5 separate regions of the Homo sapiens genome follow, and regions 2, 3, 4 and 5 are each linked to region 1. Evidence: promoter capture Hi-C in human tissues and cell types (Jung and others, 2019). All regions are on one chromosome and are shown on one strand. Each heading gives the region's core, a stretch centred on a gene start or on the middle of the fragment in contact. The rest is flanking DNA. Distances are from core to core; before and after follow the strand shown.

Region 1 (2,901 bases), core at 262-2,761:
CCATTTCTGTGGCCCCAGCTCCTGGAATCAGTCTGGGATCTTGACATAGCTGGAAATAGGCATCAATGCCGTGGTAGACGGCCTGCTCTGCACTCCGCAGCCCCTGGGTGGTGGCTCCCCTGAGAACCACAGTGAGGGCAGGTGTGCCTGTACATTCCCATTCAAATACCACAGCCAAACCATCTCCCAGCTCCTGCCTGTAAACCCTCTGGCACTTGCCTGGCCTCTGGGGAGGGAGCAGACGAGGCAGCAGAGGTGTGTCCAACACCTCACTCAGGTAAATGATCTCCATCCAAGACCTAGCTTGAATCACCACGATGCCATACTTGTCCGCCAGTGTGAGGGTCTCCTCGTCGACCTCCCCCAACACCACTGCCACATTAATTCCTGCAGCTGCTAGCTGGCCTACTTGCTTTTCTAGTAATTGATCGCTTCCTTTACTAAATTGAGCTAGATCAGCAGGACTAGAAAGACGGGCCGTTGCTGGTGCATTTGGATGGGCAGGACCAAAGGGGCAAGCAAAGAGAGCCACCCTGGCACCACTTAACACTGTGGCCATTTGCCCACAGAGCTTCCCAGATATTGCTAACCCCGGGAGGAGGCAGGAATCCTCCAGTGTCCCCCCGGGCAGCGCGCACACCCCAACACGCTCAGGCTTGAAGCTGCCGTCTAGTTCCTTGATAGCCCAGCAGGCGTGGGCCACCAGCTTGGTCAAGTGGTCCATGGGGGACAGGGTGTGGGTATTCATCACAGAATGGAGGGCCCAGGATGGATCTTCCAAAGGCCCCAGAGATTGGATGGCCAGGGAGGGCAGTGTGGCCAGGACCTCTGCAGTGGCCGTGGCGTAGGCCTCCCGGAGCTGCGGGCGAGGCAGGCCAGCCTTCAGCAGCTGCTCTGCCTGTTCCAGCAAGGCTTCCGTCAGCAGAACCACGAAGGCTGTGCCGTCCCCACTATTCTCTGCCTGGGTTTGTCCTGCTTCCCGGAGGAGCCATGCTGCTGGGTGCTCCAGCTCCAGGGCCCTGAGGATGGCAGTGGCACACCCCGTGCACACTGTTTCTCCTTTCATGGTCACCAGGAACTTCTGCCGGCCGTGGGGGCCATAGCAAGGCCGGATGACACTGGCCAGGGTCTGGACTGCAGCCAAGCTGCTCAGCAGGTGGGGCTCCTCCTCTTCTGGACTCCTCGGGCTCTCCCTTGGGTTCAGTGCCAGCCGCTGGGGCAGCTCCAGGGCTGAAGGGACTGTGCTGTCCATGGCCCGCAGAGAGAGGAGAGGCCACCGTGGGTTGCAGAGATGCTCTAGAAACAGCAGCTGGGGCACTCCTGACACCGATCGTTGAAAGTACTCAAGAGGTCAGTGGAAGCAAGGAGCCAAATGCCCATTGATTGGTATCTGAAGACATCAGCACGGACCAGCACTCCACTGTGGGTCCAAGGATGAGCTCCAAAGAGCCCAGTCCTAAAGCCACCCCAGGGTTGATTCTGTAAAGGAACTGGGTCTTGGGGCCTCTCAACCTTGGTGGCTGAAATGGGATCTTTAACTGATGAAGTCACAAAGTGGAAAATGGAACCAGGATAGAGAATGAGGTCACAGAAGGCTGGTTAGAACTGAGGAGGCCCTACCAGCAGGCAAAAGTCAGGCCTTGTCCAGCAATGGAGGTACATGCACCTCTGCACCAGGTTTGAGACTTGTTTAAACGTAAGAGACAATGAGGAGGAGATCAAGTGAAAAACTACCCATTTCACCCTATCTGGAGTGCAGGGGCATAACCATGGTTCACTGCAGGCCCAGCTCCCTGGTCTCAAGCAGTCCTCCTGCTCAGGTTCCCAAGTACCTGGGACTACAGGCACACACCACCACACCTAGCTAGTTTTTTTATTTTTTGTAGAGACAGTGTTTCTGTCTGTTGTCCAGGCAGGTCTCGAATTCCTAGCCTCAAGAGAGCCTTCCACCTTGGCCTCCCAAAGTGCTAGGACTACAGGTGTGAGCCACCACCTCACCCACCCTTTTTTTTTTTTTTTTTTTGAGACAGAGTCACACTCTGTTGCCCAGGCTGGAGTGCAGTGGTACAATCTTAGCTCACTGCAACCTCCACCTCCCAGGTTCAAGCAGTTCTCCTGCCTCAGCCTCTCAGTAGCTGGGATTACAGGTGCCAGCCACCACGCCCGGCTAATTTTTTATATTTTTAGTAGAGATAGGGGGATTTCACCATGTTGGCCATGGTTGGCCAGGTTAGTCTCAAACTCCTGGCCTCAAGTGATCCGCCCACCTCGGCCTCCAAAAGTGCTGGGATTACAGGTGTGAGCCACTGCACCTGGCCTTTTTTTTTTATTTGAGAAGGAACTGAGAGATGATGTCTGTGTTTTGTTTTGTTTTGGTGTTACTTTCTCTTGCAGTACTGTGTAATATTAGCCATGTTTTGCTGTCTGCCTTTGACTTTTTGGGTATCTTATCAGTTTGTGCTTGTGTATCAGGTTTCTTAGGGTGTCTGTTGGTCTTTCAGGGTGCAGGTGTGGGAGGCTGCACAGCGTGCATGCCTGTGCCACGACTCCCAACTCTGCCTCCCTGGCAGAGGCAGGGCAAGACAAGTGGGGAAGGATGCTGACAGCTCACAGACAAATAGAAGTGAACCCAGAGGGGTGAAAAGCAACCAGCCTCCCAGCGGTCAGGGAGGTAGAAGCCTAAATGGGGTCCTGAGATTTAAATGCGAATCGCCTTCCCATCCTAACCTTCAATGCTTACAATTTAAGTCTCTTTTTTTCATTCTCTCTCCTTTCCTCACTTGTCTCCTCTTTCCTCCTATAGAGCCTACTCGGGTAATGATGCTTCTGCTTTAGTTTAACACATATTTAGTCTGGGCGTGGTGGCTCATGCATGTAATCCCTGCACGTTGGGAGGCTGAG
Region 2 (2,901 bases), core at 281-2,780, 230 kb after region 1:
ATGTAACAACAGGTCCAGGTGATGATAATTCAAGGCTGCTGAAACAAGTGAATGAAATCTTGAAGGGATCTTAATGATGAGAACTAATTCTTGCTTGTTGGAGTGATGAGACAAATGGTCCAAAAATTAAAAAACAAAACAAAACAACAACAACAACAAAATAATTTGTTGCTTGCAAATAGGCCCTAGAAGCAATATGAAACAGTCTTCAAATGAATAGATGAGAAAAATCGCATCTGACCTAATTAATTCAATGTCACAAAAAGAGAGACAATGTGTTATTTAAAGGGATGAGACAGAAAAAACACTCTTGTAAATAAAGAGAGAAGAGTACAATGAAGTACCCATTTCCACCTACGAGGAACGGGCATGTAAGAAAATACGGGAATCATGTGCAGATGATATAATTACTTATCTAGAGGCACCATAAAAATGTTTTTCCCCAAATAATGTCCATTAGGGATAAAATTTTAAGAAAGAAAGGATGTTACTTTTAAAGACAATTGTTAAATACCTAGTAAATAGAGTAAGTGAGTAAGAAAAGCAGAAAGAAAATAAGTTGCAGCTACCAGATACCCACAAAAAGAAAGAAAAGGGAAAAAGAAGGAATGGAGGGAGAGAGCACAAATGGAAAGAAAAAGGGTGGGAAGGAGGAGGGAGAGTAGAGAGAGAAATTACAGAAGTAGGCGAGGGGTATAAAGGAAAGCATGGAAAGACAACTGCAGAGACATCAGAGTTTCTGGGCCTCAGGATAGGGGAAAAATACATCCAACATTATAAGAAATATATCCCACTCTCTCCCCAGCAATCCATACATCGAATATGATATTAATGCAGATTGCACCTTTCTGGCTGCCCCAACCACTTCCTTCTCCTTTGGACTCACAGAAGGACCTCTATAATTTATTTCTGGAAAACACTTATGAAAATATGCACATATGAAAAGGGCCACAGAGTTTAGAAATGGGTCTTCCAGAGTCTAAAATTCAAGGTAGAAAGTGAAAGTGAAGTCACTGAACAATGGAATTTAGGCATGTGTTTGTGATTAAGTGAACTTGTTTCTTGTACTCACATAGCCAGTGCATCACTGCATCTGAATAACAAAAAATATGGTAGATTTCTGCCCCTTTGAGATTTCACTTAAATACGAAGCACTTTCTCCTTCTGATGTTTAAAAACATGCTGAAATTTGTAATATATTAGTAACAACCACTGTCCCACCCAAATGCTAAGCAGCTGCTTCTCTTCTCTGAAAATCAGAATCAAGAGAGGGAGTTTCTAGGCTCAAGACTCGGGAAAAGCCACCCCTGATATCCAGAGATTTATGTTAAGATCCCCAGCTGAGACAGGCAGAGGTCAAGGTAGGCTGAAGAAGCTGATCTGAGATGGTCGAGGGCTGCTCCTACTTACCTTGCCTATTTGCCACCCTCACAGTTTTGAAACTCGTTCAAAAAGTAAATGCTTTTGTTCACCTCTTTAACAGCACCATTTCTGGTCTCGTTTTCAACACTACGTCCTTTGCTTTGCAGGTAAAATTGCTTATTTTCTTGCCTTTTTATGACTAAAGTAGGCTTGCAGTTTGGAGTCAGGTGACTGCACTAGCTGAGTCATCTTCCCTTGAAAACACCAAGGCATTCTTCCTCCCTACAGAGTCACACATCTTAGTTCCCCAAAACGCTCAGCCACAATTTGACTTCGATTGTCCTACATTTAAGGTGATATTTTTCTGATTCTCCCATTAACTCCCTCTTCTCTTCGCACCCATGGCCCATCTTTTGCTGCTGTCTAGTAGCCATTCATCCCCTCCCATCACAAAAGAAGTCTGTACTTCCTTCAGACAGAGCAACAAGAAAATTCCCCAGAAAGCAAACAATTAAACAAATTTTAATTTTGCCTTTTTTAAATGAAAATTCTGTCAAAATTGATGAACCACATCTGGTAGGAGCACCTGTTTTATTTTCACAAAGAGTTTTCTGATCTGGACATTTTTGTTACTTACTGCTAATATGGAAAATTTTGAACTAAACAAAATACACCCCCAAAACTTAAACTATGTTAAACCAAGACAAGCTTCTAACAATGACACCTCTTTCCAGTATGAGAGAACTGCCTCCTACAGTATAAGAAATATCAAAATCATTATTTTTTTATTCCACACATATTCAACACTTAAAGCCAAGGCATTAGAATTTTAATATACCACCTCTCAAGCATGAACATATAAAAATTCTTACTGTAAATGGGGCATGATTATTTTTCAAAGAGAAGAAATATTTTATTCAATTCTAAGATTAATTCACAAATTTGACTCCTGTTTTATAATGATAACTTTACGTTGCAGGACACAGAGATTATTCCTTAAGAAATATTTTTTAAATAGATATTTGGCTCTTGGAACCAAATAATAAAATTTTCTGCTTAGACATACATACAAATTTACTTTACTTAAAACACTTTCTTGTTATTATTACATTTTTAAATCTCCCACTCTTTGGGATCTCCTTATAAGTAGGTCACTTGCTTTTAAAATCTTACATAATTAACATGTCAGATATTTACAGACATACCAAATGAAAGTATTATTTATTCTATGATATGAATAAAAAATGTTTTGAATAGATACATACATGAATAACTTTTTATTCTGAAATCTAATCAGTTTTATTCATATTTGATTTTATTTTAATTTTTTAAGGTATGTTTCACATAATACAAAATTACATTATTCAAAATTATATTATTAAAACATTTCTATCATCAAACAGGAAACCCCATTATCTACTTAACAGTTCTTTCTATTCCCCAGCCCCTGACAACCATTAACCTACCTTTTGTCTATATGGCCATGTCTTTTTACCATATATGTTTTACACTGCATCAGTTTTCAATCCAACATGCCAA
Region 3 (2,901 bases), core at 281-2,780, 220 kb after region 1:
ATAGGAACAGTTACGAAAGTGTGAAAACTAAATAAATCTAAAGAGGGAAATATTTCAATTCCGTAAACGATAATTATGGCATCCTTAATCTTTTTAGCCATCTATTTATATTCAATTTACTTGTTGGAGGCAGTGAATGAGAAATATTTGTGTCACTTACCTCACAATAGGTCCTAAAAGAAGAATGTGCCAAAAAAGTAATGCAGCCTTATTTCTCCTCAAGTCTTTGTTGAAAAACATCAGGATAATTTGATCCAAAATTGCCCCCACAATAATAAAGCTGATGGTAAATGACATCCAGAATGTGTCATTAGCTTTTCGATAAATTTCAAACATGTATAAACCAAAGGCAACCTCACCACAGTAGAGAACAGTTGAGAAGATAATGCTAAAAGGAAAGCTTAGATGGAGTCTCTGGCCAAGGACTATTTCTTCTTTCGAAGATGAAACTCCTCCTGTGCTTTCTTCATCCATCTCTTCAAACACTGTCTCCATTCTCAGGGTGCTGCTAATTCAAAGTCGTCTTGTCAGTGAATCCAGTAGAGTTCAGTATTAAATTTAAACAGAAGTAAACAAGATTCTCTATAATTCACTATTCATAGAAAATGTTAACAGGTAGATATGGATCACTAATCAGAATAGAAAAATCCATGTCTGGTTTAGGGAATATTGAACTATGATGTCTAATTTGACATACTATTTCTTCAGAAAACATTGTTTTAAAGAAGTAGACGATCAAACTTCTATAAGGCATCAACTACCTCTTAGCACTGAGATGATAGTCCTATCTCCAAGTAGTATGAAAGAAATGTTCATTACTCATAAGTTTTCTTTTTGTGCTTTTCAGCCAATGTCTGCAGCTGACATCCACTAAAATAAAACGGCACAATCTAAGCCAAGTCTAACCATGATGACACTAAGAAAACTATCCCCAGATATTCCTGATTAGTAAAGGAATACAGAATAGTGAGGCCTTTAAGTTCCACTTATTGCTAGATGTTGGTTATTTGCATTTAAAATACTGTTTCTTGACTGAACTTAACTCTATGAAGTTATTAATCTAGTAAAGTTTCAATTTAAATAGATGTAAAATCCAGACTGCATGGCAATAGTAGGTTTAAACTCTCTTTTGTTGGGGGGAAAAACAGCTCATTTTAGGTTCTCTGTAGACAAACCGCCAGAAAAATTACTGACATACTGTGAACATCAATTAGTCACTATGTGTGGGAAGCAATATAAAACAAAATGAATAAGAAGGAAAATAAAAGGCAACAGTACTTTTAAATCAAGTAAATATTAAAATGAAATTGTTTTAGAGAAATATTTTTCTGACTAAAAATGCTGTTAATATATTGAAAGCACAAAAAATGAGTAAGCATCTAATGCAAATTTCCAGAAAGAAAGATAATATTTCCCCAGAAGACGTTGGTGGTTTTTAAAAACATATTAATGGGAAAAGTAAAAGTAGTAGTTAAAAAAAGTGGGAGGGAAGAAGCAGGAAGTTATCTATTTTATTTGACAAGTTGTTCATTTCTTGAACTGTCTTTGCATTGCTTTGTCATAATTTATCATAAATATTCCTCAAATTCTTTAAATTTTATGCTGCAGAATATTAAATTCCTCAACTTCTTTTGTTTTTCTGATCTAAATCACACCTTTATCTATATGCACTTATTTATTCAAAGACAAAACCTTCATCCCATTTTAAAATATGTCCTCCTGGACCCAATCCATCAATATGATTGATCTTTTTCTCTTTTGTGTAATTTATTTTATTCTCCTCTTCGGTGCTCTGATTTCCTTATCACACGTGTATTAAAAAAACCATATTTTACAATTCAAAACAAAAACTGTCTCTCATGGTGCTGAACTTTTTCTCTGCTTTTAATTGCCACAGAGAATTTCTATTAGTTATTTCCTTTCCATCACTTCTTATTATTTCTCAGGTTTTATCCCACAACAGTGAAGTCACAGTGGTTTCTCAAAAGTCATCAGTGACACCCTAATTGCTAAATGTAATATGTTACCTTAAACTTCAGTTGAATATTTTTGCCATTGATAATATGCTCTCATTTGAACATTCCACTTACCTTAACCAGTCAGGCTTTCATCCCCAACGGTCCACCAAAAGTACTATATTTAACTTTCTTTTTGCCAAATATAATAGTTTTTTTTTAAATTCCTATCATTGTTTATTGAGACACGGTCTGGTTCTGTTGTCCAGGCTGGAGTGTAGTGGTGCGATCAAGGACTCACTGCAGCCTCAACCTCCCAAGCTCAAGCGATCTTTCCACTTCCACCTTCCGGGTGATTGTGACTGCAGGCCACCAGGCCTAGCTAACTTTGGTATTTTTGTAGAGACAGGGTCTCTTCATATTGCCCAGGCTGGTCTCGAGCTCCTGGGCTCAAGCCTTCTGCCCGCCTCAGGCTCCCAAACTGCTGGCATTGGAGGTGCAAGCCACCACACCTGGCCAATTATAAAAGTTATTTTTTAGTCTCCCTCTTACTTGAATTATTCCTGATGCATTTACTCTCAATCTCCTGGTTATCTTTTCCTGTACAATGGATTTCTGAATGGTACTGAGTCCCATATTTATATCTCCAGCCAGTCTCTTACCAATGCCCCAAACTTATAGGAGTCTGTTGTACATATTCGAGTTTAATAGGCAATTTGAACTCAAGGCTACAGACTGAATTCTGATCCACTTTCCAAACAACTTTCCCCATATGTTTCCCATTTCACCTGATAATAATTACGTCCTGCTGCTAAGGCACATAAGGTCATCCTTAATGCTTTTCTTTTCATTGCATCATTTCTATTAATCATCAAATTCTGCATGTTTTACTTTTAAGACACATGCAGAATCTAGCCACTTTTCCCTATTCCTCCTGCTATCACCC
Region 4 (2,901 bases), core at 294-2,793, 200 kb after region 1:
TTCAATAAGTGGTGCTGGGAAAACAAGAGAGCTACATGCAGAAAAACAAAATCAGAACCCTATCTCTTACTACATACAAAAAATAACTCAAATACACTAAAAAGCCTATAGTGCAGTGGCGTGTACCTATAGTTCCAGCTACTCTGGGGTCTGAGTCAGGAGGATCACCTGAACCTAGGAGTGCAAGGCTGTAGCATGCCACACTCATGCCACTGCACTAACCCTAGGCAATACAGTGAGACCTCATCTGTAAAAATACATTTTTAAAAACGTTTAAAAATAAATATGTAATGAAAACCCTAAACTGTCAAACCTAATAAAACACAGGGCAAACTTAATGACCTTGGTCTGGGCAAGGATTTTTTTTTTTTTTTTGGATAAGACCTCAAAACCACAAGCAACAAAACCACCAACAGACAAATGAGGTTTCATCCTACTAGAAAGCTTCCACGCAGAAAAAAAAAAAAAAAATCAGAGTGATAGAATGAGAGCAAATATTTGCAAATTATACATCAGACAAGGGGTTAATTAAAATATACAAGGAACTTAAAAATATTCAAAAGCAAAACAAACAAATACCACGTGTTCTCACTTATAACTGGGAACTAAATTATGATTACACATGGACAAATAGAGGGAAACAACACGCACTGTGGCCCATTAGAGGCTACAGAGTGGGAGGAAGGAGAACATCAGTGAAAACAACTAATGGACACTAGGCTTAATACCTGGGTGATGAAATAATTTGTACAACAAACCCCTATCATACAAGTTTACTTATATAACAAACCTGCATATGTAGCCCTAAAACTAAAATAGAAGTTAAATTTTAAAAATTAGAAAGAAAAAAATAAACAATTCTCCGTAAAGAAAATAGGTCTCTTAATAGGCCTTTCTCAAAAGGCATTTTTCAAAAGAAGACATGTAAATCAAAACCTGTATGAGACTTCACCTCATCCTGGTTGGAACAGCCATTATTTAAAGAATAAAAAGAAAAAAGAAACGTTGAAAAAAAAAAAAGAATATGGAGGAACGAAAACTCTTGCACATTATGGGTGATAATGCAAATCACTAAACCCATTTTACTCCATGAACAGTTTGGAGCTTCCTCAAAAATTAGAAATTAGTACTAATGCATTATCCAGAAATTCCACTTTTGAGAATGTATCAAAAGGAATTGAATCCAGTATGTTGAAGAGATATATACACTCTCATGTTTATTTCAGCATTATTCACAGTAGCCAAGATATAGAATCACCTCAAGTGTCCATCAGTGAATGAATACATAAAGAAAATGTGGTACATATACACAATGGAAGAGTATTCAGCTATAAAAAAGAATGAAATTCTCATCTGCAGCAACAGGGATGAACCTGGAAGACATTACGTTGAGTGAAAAAAAATGGTCTCACTTTTATGAGAAAACTTAAAAAAAAAAAGACTCTGTGGATATAGAGAGTGAAACAATGGTTACCAGAGACTAGAGTGGTTATAGGAAAAGAAAGAATGAGGAGAATTTTATCAAAAGATTTATAATTACAGTCAGATAGGAGTAATAAATTTAAAGAGATCTATTGTATAGCAGGGTCACTACAGTTAGTGAAGGTATATTGTTGAAATATGTACACAGAATGGATATTAATTGCTCTTACCAAAATAAAAAAAAAAACAGATAACTACGTGAGAAAATGCATTTGTTAATTCTCTGGATTTAACTATTCCATGTTATATATATACTTCAAACATCATCTTGTACACAATAAAAACATACAATGTAACCTGTCGATGTAAAAAAAAAATAGAGAAAGAAAGGAGGCAGGGGGGAGAGAGAGAGGGAGAGAGGGAGAAAGAGGGAGAGAGAGGGAGAGAGAGGGAGAGAGGGAGAGAGAGGGAGAGAGAGAGAGAGAGAGAGAGAGAGAGAGAGAAAGAGAGAGAGAGAGAGAGAGACTGACTCTGAGACTAAAGGGGAAAAACAGCCACACCATAAAATTGTATTACACTGACCACTGGTACCATTTTCTTTTTGTTTTTTTTTTTTGTTTGTTTTTTGCTTTTGTTGTTGTTGTTGGAGGGGATGGAGGTTTGCTCTTGTTCCCCAGGCTGGAGTGCAATGGCACTATCTCGGCTCATTGCATCCTCCGTCTGCTGGGTTCAAGCCATTCTCTTGCCTCAGCCTACCGAATAGTTGAGATTACAGGTACCCGCTACCATGTCCAGCTAATTATTGTATTTTTAGTAGAGACAGACAGGACTTCACCATGTTGGCCAAGCTAGTCTTGAAACCCTAACCTCATGTGATCCACCCACCTTGGCCTCCTAAAATGCTAGGATTACAGGTGTGAGCCACCATGCCCGGCCTACACTGACACAATTTTCATATGTTTATAAATAGGTGTCCGTCTACATTTTGTCAGTTAATAGAAAGCAAATAATTATGAACCTTGTTAAAAAAATTAGTGGTAATAGGAAAAGTGAACACACAAATACACGCAGTCTACAGATCTGTGCGTACAATGAAAACTGCATCTAATGCCATGAAGCTAGTAGAACTTATTTGTAAAAAAATTTCCAACTATAGATCCTATCCCATGGGATATGGTTGTGGTTGTATAGTTATAGGTTTATTCAGCCATCATTTGTTTTACTGCTGAAGGTCTCATATAATTCAATAATTTTGGACACATGTAAACGTGTACCTAACTGCTTCTCATTTGGTTTGAATGCCCACTTGTCAAATATCTATTGATTTGGCAAACAACTTCTTAGTCTTAGTTTGTTGTTCACATATATGCTAAAAACTTCCCTTGTTACGAAAGAATTTCAAATGACATCTGATGTCAAATGACATCTTTGTAATAAAATACTGTATATTTCATGTCTTTTAGTGATGTTTTGTTCAAG
Region 5 (2,901 bases), core at 137-2,636, 140 kb after region 1:
TATGAAAATTACTGCTGTGTTAGGCCACAAAAACATCAATAATTTCCTGAATAAGTAAAAACATTTGTAGAACATACAGGATTATGATGTATTCAGTAAGAGCACATTTCTGTTTATGCCCACAAATTTACATAGGGAGGAGATGGCCACTCGGGCTCACGACCTGTTGTGTCTTTATGGGTTACAGTTACTGTAACTTCGCTGATGACATAGGCTATGATGCTTGACCAAGGCCAAATAGGAGCAAAGGAAAATAAGGTGTCTTAGGGAACCGATTGTAAGAACTGGAAAAGAATAAATTTGTTAATGAATTATCTGCCACAAAAGCTGGATGGAGAAGAAATGTTAGTTTGATATATGCAAAACAACTGACACCACAATCCCTTCTAGTCCAACCATCCTACTGGCAGGGTGTGTACTGGGGAAATGAACATCAAGTGAATTCAAAGAATTTGACTAAATGAACACTGGGAGCTATTCTGCAACACGGAGCCCTCTTGATTAAACGGAACCACAGGAAGGAAAATTTCTCTTCTAGACACCATTGTGGCACAGCAGAAACTCTGGATCATAGTACGTAGAGTTACAAGACACAGTTATCGTTTGTGACTCAGGTTGGCCCATCTATTCTGCCTAAAATAGTTTTCAGAGGAGGTGACATCAAGACTTTTTTTGTGGCAATTATAGCAAGTTCTGAAATTTTGAATGATAAACTTATGTGGAAAAAAATTTTTAAACTGTGCTTATTACTGGGAAAATTAAATTTTATTTTTTTAAATTACACAACACAGAAGAAAATCATTAGTAATCAGTATTTTACATTTAATGAAAAGGCATTAGCAGAAACTAAAAAGTTAATTTTTACTGGAATTGAGAAGAAATGAAACCTAATACCTTAGTCATTAATCAAGAATAAATTGGGAGAGTCCAAAAGTGTTACTCTGACTTTTTAGTTCAATCTCAGTGGCTTTGAATATTTACTTTCAATGAAGACAAGCCAGTTCATGGATATAAAAGGAGTTTATTAAACAAATGTCACTTTAATTTGTTCCTGGAATATATTATGTGAGCTTCTGGTGGCTGATTCATCCTGCTTATTATGTTTTATTCATGCTAAAATTAAGAAGAGTTTCATTTTATAGGACACTAAAGGTTGGTAGTTGGGGGAACCGTAATGCGTAGCAGGTGGCAGGGAAAGCCGGTGAAGAATTAAGAAAGAGGCACTTAATGTTTAATGAAAACCAAAACTGTTGATAATTATAAAAGGACTCGGTCATATTTAAAAATGTATATTTCACTTAAAAACATTTCCTCAATTAATTTATTATGACCTTTAAACTTTGGTTCCAGGTTAAATGATCAGCTCTCACCTGGGTACACTCAGCATAACCTCTATACTTGATGAGTAAAATGCTCCTATTAAATGTCATTCTCACTCTATAAACATCTTTCGAAATAATTCTTTATTTATATAACTCTCCACCCATCAACTCTTAAGAATGTCTTATTCATCTTTCTATCTACAGTGTAAATACGCAAAGACTGTATACGCAAACAGTAACTTAAAAGTCTACAGTTCAGAGTTGTACTTTGTAACTTAATGTATTGCCACATAGAACCCAATTTTTAATATGCTCATCAGTTTTGCCTCCTCACTGTTAGAATTCAGAATTTATTATTTTGTGAATAACAAAGTGTGTCCTGGCTTTAACAACCTTGAAATTTTTGAACCATGTCGAGTGGTACCTGGAGCAGAAACAACTATTTAACAGCCATATATTATTTCAGTTTAGCAAGAGGTGGACACAAATTCAAATGTAAGAAATAGCATTCCTTGGTTTTATGAAAAGTGCAAAAAAATCAATCGTTTCTTTACATATATGTGAAGCAAATATGACCCACTATCTTGAGAGAAACTAGAATATCCTGATTGCGGATACTTTAATCCAAAAATCCAGCTGTGAAGGAAATTCAAATTGCTGTTCAATTGTTTTAAAAGAGTTATGGTTCTATAGATACTGCAACTTCTTTGGGGAAAGTGTTTGTGTTCTCATGTGGTAGTAGATATGATGAACTATGGGTGGTTCTCAAGCACTTGTAAAGTACGGTCATTAGTTAGAAATAAGGAATGAGGAGAAAGAGCACTGGAGACAAGACATATAGCATTGATCGTCCTTCTCAGGTAGAGAGATTGTAAGAAAATGAACCCCAGCATGGCAAAGTTCCACCAGGCCTGGATGTTTGATGTACTAGACATGGTCTCATTAAATGAGTATGATTTCACAGGTTTGTGGCCTTGCCAGTTGGGATATGGTTGTAGTGTGTAGAGTAAGATTTACCTTAAAGACAGATCATATTTTCTTCTTTAAATCATTTTAAGAAAAGACTGATCCCCAGAAAGGAGATGAGAATCAGGGAGGAAGGACTTTGACGAGCAGAAAAACAGGTTTTCAACTTTGTTTAGCCTCAAATGGTAGTGCCCCAAGAATTTCAAACCCTTTAATTAGTAAAGTTAATCTCAACCCTGCCAGATGAAGTAGTATTTTAATTCAGCATAGCAACTTCTTAGTAAACATCCACTCACTTCATTTACTGAGTAAAATGGTCCTATTAAATACACTCTTACAGCAATATGTACCTGGATTCTAAGCTTTGTTCTCAACTAAGTTCAAATGATTGCTTAGTATCTGGGTCCCCAATTAGACTGTAGATACTTTTCAAAGAAAACACTAAAACCAGAAATACTTTTTAAAAATAACCATAGCTACTTAATTAATGTGTTAATCTCTGTTAGTTTGTTTGATGGATTATATTTGCAAGTAGTACTTGTAATTAGCAAAAGGTCTTCAGAAGACATCTGTTAACTGCATATTTCTGTAACAGAATTGTGTGTTTTAAGAA

The links. The method cuts DNA at HindIII sites, captures the fragments that hold promoters and counts their contacts. A contact is called where the count stands out against the background at its distance.
Region 2: a contact is called between the fragment with the promoter of XKR3 here and the fragment with the promoter of CCT8L2 in region 1, in 3 of the 25 tissues and cell types used here (adrenal gland, aorta and bladder).
Region 3: a fragment that was not itself captured here is called in contact with the fragment with the promoter of CCT8L2 in region 1 in 2 of the 25 tissues and cell types used here (dorsolateral prefrontal cortex and lymphoblastoid cells).
Region 4: a contact is called between a fragment that was not itself captured here and the fragment with the promoter of CCT8L2 in region 1, in 5 of the 25 tissues and cell types used here (dorsolateral prefrontal cortex, heart left ventricle, lymphoblastoid cells and 2 more).
Region 5: a fragment that was not itself captured here is called in contact with the fragment with the promoter of CCT8L2 in region 1 in 6 of the 25 tissues and cell types used here (IMR-90 fibroblasts, dorsolateral prefrontal cortex, heart right ventricle and 3 more).

The regions. Positions count from the first base shown.
Region 1 is chr22:16,591,299-16,594,199 of GRCh38, forward strand. CCT8L2 (chaperonin containing TCP1 subunit 8 like 2) reads right to left here and starts at 1,512. Exons shown (of 1, transcript NM_014406.5): 1 at 1-1,512. The coding sequence starts at 1,252. The HindIII fragment of the contact is 16,456 bases long and covers 1-2,901 here.
Region 2 is chr22:16,823,881-16,826,781 of GRCh38, forward strand. XKR3 (XK related 3) reads right to left here and starts at 1,531. Exons shown (of 4, transcript NM_001386955.1): 1 at 1,411-1,531. The HindIII fragment of the contact is 14,808 bases long and covers 1-2,901 here.
Region 3 is chr22:16,807,579-16,810,479 of GRCh38, forward strand. XKR3 (XK related 3) reads right to left here. Exons shown (of 4, transcript NM_001386955.1): 2 at 161-505. The coding sequence starts at 495. Among named protein-coding and RNA genes, the nearest start is that of XKR3, 16 kb to the right of the region's middle. The HindIII fragment of the contact is 8,401 bases long and covers 1-2,901 here.
Region 4 is chr22:16,789,888-16,792,788 of GRCh38, forward strand. All of the region lies in intron 3 of XKR3 (XK related 3), which reads right to left. Among named protein-coding and RNA genes, the nearest start is that of XKR3, 34 kb to the right of the region's middle. The HindIII fragment of the contact is 6,994 bases long and covers 1-2,901 here.
Region 5 is chr22:16,729,912-16,732,812 of GRCh38, forward strand. No RefSeq gene overlaps it. Among named protein-coding and RNA genes, the nearest start is that of LINC01665, 17 kb to the right of the region's middle. The HindIII fragment of the contact is 6,420 bases long and covers 1-2,901 here.